2 separate regions of the Homo sapiens genome follow, and region 2 is linked to region 1. The links are contacts of gene promoters, found by promoter capture Hi-C in human tissues and cell types (Jung and others, 2019). All regions are on one chromosome and are shown on one strand. Each heading gives the region's core, a stretch centred on a gene start or on the middle of the fragment in contact. The rest is flanking DNA. Distances are from core to core; before and after follow the strand shown. Region 1 holds the start of UNC5D (unc-5 netrin receptor D). Region 2 overlaps UNC5D (unc-5 netrin receptor D).

The links. The method cuts DNA at HindIII sites, captures the fragments that hold promoters and counts their contacts. A contact is called where the count stands out against the background at its distance.
Region 2: a contact is called between a fragment that was not itself captured here and the fragment with the promoter of UNC5D in region 1, in 2 of the 25 tissues and cell types used here (dorsolateral prefrontal cortex and spleen).

What each region holds. Positions count from the first base shown.
Region 1 is chr8:35,233,997-35,236,794 of GRCh38, reverse strand. It overlaps UNC5D (unc-5 netrin receptor D), which reads right to left and starts at 1,320. Exons shown (of 17, transcript NM_080872.4): 1 at 908-1,320. The coding sequence starts at 1,010. The HindIII fragment of the contact is 15,361 bases long and covers 1-2,798 here.
Region 2 is chr8:35,329,430-35,332,451 of GRCh38, reverse strand. The region is part of intron 1 of UNC5D (unc-5 netrin receptor D); the gene reads right to left. Among named protein-coding and RNA genes, the nearest start is that of UNC5D, 95 kb to the right of the region's middle. The HindIII fragment of the contact is 4,750 bases long and covers 1-3,022 here.

The sequences.
Region 1 (2,798 bases), core at 71-2,570:
CTCCGGTACTTGAGCTGTGTCTGAAACTGCCTCTGATCATCTTCAAAACAACTCCTTGGGATTTATCTTTAACTTGATGCTGCCTGTCCTCGCTCAAGGTGGAGCTGAAACCAGTTGCGAAATTTCCCTCTGCTGGAGTCCAGAGGATCCAAGAAAATGGGGTCTAGGCTTCTAAGTCGGAAAGAAGCAGAGGTTTCCCTGCGGCTCGGTGGGGCCCGCGCTTCCAAGCCAGAGTAGGCGCCGGGAAGGGAGAGGAGGCGCCTGGTGAGCAGCCTCGGGCCAAGTGCTCATCCCGGCTGGGCACTGCAGGCGCGGTTAAACTGGGATGGTGCACGCCGCTCTCCCGAGCTCCAGGGCTGGCTGGGACCTCGGGCTAAGGACGCCCGAGGGGTGCCAAGCTAGGCGCAGAGCGAAGGGACTTCAGCATGGGTGTTCCTCCCCTAAGGGAAAAGACACCCTCTCTGTTCAAGCCCACCCTACAGACACTCCCATCACCTGGCCCCTCTCCCCAGGAACTCTCCGACATCGCTATGGGCGCTAACTCATGACCAAGCTCGGCTTGAGAGGAAGTGGAGAGGAGAGGGGAGAGCGAGATTGGAGTGAAGACCGGGCTACTCCAGTCTGCAGCAATTGGGGAGGGCTTGGAAAATGGAGCAGGCAAGGAGGGTCCAGGAAAACGGTAGGGGCCCGGGTCACAGCCACCTGTAGGATTGCGGCAGATCGCAAACTTGGGTTGGAAGGCTGTGGTCCCCTCGGAGTCCTCCACTCGGCTCCCATCCGGTTGGGCTTGGAGCGCCGAGGTGCAGGGCGCAAGTTGGGAAGCCAACGCCATCGGTGCAGGTCCCGCTCCGTCAGGCTGGCGCCCCTGCGCCCTCGCCCCCAGCTGCCCGCTCCGCCCAGCGCTTACCTCGGGCAGCCGCGGTCCCTGCCGCCCAGAAGCACAGCCCCAGCCACGGGAGCCAGCGGCGCGCCCCTCCGCCGCCGCCTGCGGTGGCCGCCGCTCTCCCCATGCTCCTCGCCGCGTTCCGGAGGGCGGCTCTTCTTCACGCTCCGGGAGCCCGGGAAAGGGTCGGCGATGAGGGTCCCGAGTCGAATGGGTCTCGGGAGTCTTCAGAGAGTGACTCTGCTCCACGATCGCTTCCTAAAGCAGCGGGGCAGGGAGCTCCGAGCCGCCGCTGAATGGGCACCCCGAGAAAGGGCGCGTCCCCATAGCTTCCCACGGCGCGGCGACCGCTGCCGCCAGCGCGGATGCCGGAGTCGCCCGCAGTCCCCGCCGCGCAGTTCCCAGCCCTCGCGCCGCTGCCGGGCCCCGAACTACGGAGCGGAGGCGAGAGTCCGCATCGCTAATGAGACCCCCGCAGCCGCCCCTTCCCCTCCCCTCCGAGCGGCAGCCAATGAGCCGGGCTGGGGCGGGGCCGCGGGAGGGGCGGTGACGCGGCGGCGCTGGGCTGGGGCCCGGGAGGCGCAGGTGAGCCAGAGGCCGCTCCACGTGCCCCCGGGGCGCTTCGGGCCCCGCCTGCAGCTCCCCCCCCCGCTCGCGGAGAGAGGAAGCGGGCTGGGAGTCGGGCGGCGGGGATGCGGCCACGCCGCGGGGAGCTGAGCGGAGCCGGCTGGCCTCTTGGGGCGAACGCCGCACAGATATGTGGGCATCTCGGTTGCCTAACTCAGTCACCTGCTTCCAGGAGACCTCCGTTTTGTTCATCTACTTTGAGCCCTTCTAAAGTCCTGCCTCTCCTACTTCCACTTTTTCCCATTAGATCAGACATCACTCAGGAAAACATCCTGAGAAAAAGAAAGACTTAAAATAAATGCGTAGTGGGAAAAAATAATAATGGAGTTACTCCATTGCTGCAACTATGCTAACTTCATTCATATAAATAAAGAAGTGGGGAATAACAATCATGGGTGCATTAAGGCTTGTATAATCGATTTTTATTTTTGCTTTCTTTTTTTTTCGAATTCCCTATTCTGTTGTCCTGAACACTCCGGAATCCCCAAACTTTTCAGAAGCTCCCTCATTTCGAATGGCTCCTATTTTTGTCAGTTTTAATCTGAGCCCAAGGAATTGCCTTCTGGTAAGTATCAGGGAAAGGAGTGTCGACTTAAAAAGGAAGAAGGTGAGGCGAAATTAATATAAGTAAGAGTTTATTTGGGCCAAGTGTGAGGATTGCAACTCAGGAGTATAGATTTAAGTTGTTTTGAATATATATTTTGATTAGTAGTAGTTATAAGTGGATTCTTAAAGGCAAAAAAAAGGGGGATGGGGAGTGGACTGATGTAACATTGTTAGGAATTTATACTGATTTATTGAAATAATGTCGATTAGTGATTAGTTATATATAGTTAAGTCATAGGATGTGGGTTATACTGTTTGATGTGGTATTATTAGGTTAATTTATAGCTATTTGTAGTAATAGTATGTAGTTTTAAGAAATGAATATATAGTTTAAAGGAAGGAGTAGGGCATGATTGTGGTCTCATTCTAATGTCTCTCTGGGCCTGACAATTAAAAGGACTTTGAAACGCGCTGGACTTTTATAAGAAGAAGGAAAGAAGACTCTTTTTTTTTTTTTTTTTAAGTGTGGCTTGTTTTAGATAGATTATCAAATTTTTATTTAACTGCTTTCGAAAATACCTCACGGTTGCCTCTTCCCTCTGCTGGAGGAGTAACTTTAGAGAGCTTGTCCTAGGTCACTCAATTTCAGAGCACACCCAGGAAGTTGGTGGGGAGTCCCAGGCTCCCCAATTGGACTACCTCATTATCGCTGCCAGGATCGAGTCCTCAAAATGGCAGCAGA
Region 2 (3,022 bases), core at 371-2,870, 95 kb before region 1:
ACATTACTGCAGAATAAGGAAAAGATATTTGCTTCTTGTTGTTGTTGCTGCCTCTGCTATTATTGTCACTATCCTCAGTGGAGCCTGGAATATTTCTATTTGAGAATATTAGACCAAGAACTTTGAAAGTGAGCTTTTAATAAACCCATTCTGCTACATCACAGTACAATAGTAAAAGCCTCCAAAATATTTGCAGACTGAACACATTGAAAGCTCAACCTATATCAAACATGAATTTTAAAAACCTGCTAGGTATGTATACTCCTAGCATCATGTTAACCCTGATTTTAGCATGTTTATGCCTGAATCAGAAAGTTTATGGTCATATCCCTCAAGAAAATGCCCTTGCTGAGTCATTCTGACATGTGAAGATGTCAATGTAAGGCATCTTTATATTAGAAGATTCTGACATGTGAAGATTCAATGTAAGGCATCCTTATATTAGAAGATGAGTTTACTACCTTCCAGCAAGAGAAAACAACTGCAAATCAAAATCATAATGATGCCTACCAAATATTGAACATGTGCTATCTGCCTGGAACTATACTTTATATGTATTGTTGCCACCTCTACCAAGATCTGGGCAAAGAAAATGTGTTTTCCCATCTTCAGATGCAGCATAGAGAGAAGCAGAAGCACTTGGCAGATGTCCTATAGTCAGTAGTGATAGAGGCAGGATGCAAGGCTGACTCCGAAGGCCATTCTTATTTTACGCTGTCAGGAGGTTTGATGTGATTCTGTTCAATTCTCCTTCAAATCTTCTTCATGAGAACTGATTCATGATGAAAAAGAAACATTAAAAAGATTTCTGTGTGAGTCAGAGCACCCCCTCCAAGGATGGTCCATATTCAAAGACTAGCAAGACTGACTGCTGACGCAGGCTGAAGTTGTTTTCTCACTGGCTAACCACTAAGCCAGTGGACAAGCAGGGCAAGTGATACAGGCGAGGAGGCTAAGATGACTAGACACAACTCTGGCCTCCTCCTTTGGTTTTCAGAGGGTGCTCTTGAAGCTCCGTGGTTACTGCTGTGTGCTGGGTTTGAGCAATCCACCATATTCAGGGAGCAAAGAAACCTGTATCACATATTAATTTCACTAAGCCCAGGAGAGAAATGACATCAGTGCTCAGGGGTCTATAACTATGAGAGAAGGCGGCTACCATACTCATGAACTCATGTGTTTTAATTTTTATCGAACCACTGGACTTCAAGCAAGCCCAATGGCCCCCCAATATAACTCTCCTGTTCTTTTAAACTGTTTCGAATAATCTATACAGGGTCGTGAATTAATCTCTCATCTCTCACTCATCTTCCTCTTTTTCCTGTCTCTTAATCTCTCTGCCTTTATTTCTGCTTCTCCAAAATTCCCCTTTGGATAACAGTTTTCCAAAAAAAACAAATCAAGACTTAATATGATCTTAGCTTAGCAAACAACAAACCAACCAACCCATCCAAAGCAACCCTGAGCAGCCCCAGGAAGCACTTAAAAGAAAGGAAATGAGGCTGCATCACATTTGTGGTCTCCCTGGGGCCAAATACTTTACAGTGAGATGGTGCACTTCACTTATACAATCATTTTTAAACCCACTTATCACTTTATCCACATTTTGTATAATACAGTGAAAGAATACACTCGAAAGCCAAAGCATCCGCGCATTAAGGAGGCCTGTCATGGTTCATCTCGAGTTAAATTTTATAGGTTTTTTCATTGCAGCCCCCAGCTATGCCACTCTATGGTAATCAAAGTCAGGCTCGTTCATATCATCTTATGTATATTTCAGATTTCCAAACTCAAGGTTAGAAGCCTAAATGTATTTTGTTTTTCAAACATTCTGAAAAATGATAGAGGCCCTGCAAAAACGTATCTAGATTGGATCTAAATGGAATTATACCACGATGGCTGAACTGAAGATCAGCTGGAATAATGCAATAGCTATTTGCCCCATAACTGTAGCGCATCAGCTAGCAGTTTTGAACTATTTTTCTAGTCACCACTTCTGGTTTTATTAGCCAGTGATTAAAAGAGACCTTAGACTTCATTGAACCCTTTCCCCTTTATTTTACAGATGAAGAAAATGGAGTCTGGAAAGGTGATATGAACAAAAGGTAGCAAGAGCTAAAAGAGGCATAAATGTAAGCCAAATCTTTATCTTCCAATTACAAGCCTGTTTCAATAAATACAGTCTTTTTTCCACCTAAGAGGCATTTATTGAGCAGTTAATATGTGACAAATATTGCATTAGACAAGGAAACTATAATATGTACTAAGGTTAAGGACCTAGAATCTGGAGTCAGAGAAATTAAGAGTGTGAATCCAGCTTTACTACTCAGTATCTCTGTGCCTTTGAACAAATTACTTAGCTGCTGTGAAATATCAGAAAAGTTACTGCCTTTCCAATTATTATTTAGTTTTCTCCTTTGTAAGTGTGAACAATCAGCACACCTACCTCACAGGGTCATTGTGAGGATTAAATAAGGCACTGCCACTGAAGCACTCAGCAGGGTGCCTGGGATTTATCAGGGGTTCATTCAATGTTAGCCATTATTATTATTACAAGTTGAATAAAGCATTGCCCATACTTGCTCAAGTGCTAGAAGATCCAAGTTCAGAGACAAGCAGAGAAACAACAAATAATAATAGAATTAGTTCAGTACAATAAGAGCCTCATGTATAGAGGTAAGGGCAAGGAAGGGGGTGAAGCCATAAACTCTGGTTAGGTTGAGGGCCTCCTGGGGCAATTGCACTAGGCCCCAGTTACAGACTTTTTAAAATCATTTTTTCTTAATTTTTTTTAAACTGGTTTAGCTCTATAGCATACCCGATCATGGCCTAATACATGGAAAGGAGTCAGAGGAGGAAATATATAAACAAAATGATGAGTGAGACTTCAGATAGGAACACAAGCTAATTAACAGCACTCGGCATTTTCCTGGTGCTTGTCTATTCTCCGGTCTCATTAGAACCCCAGTCTAATGTGTTGCTTTCAAGATTGATGTCTACTTTTTCTATCCTTTTTTTTCCC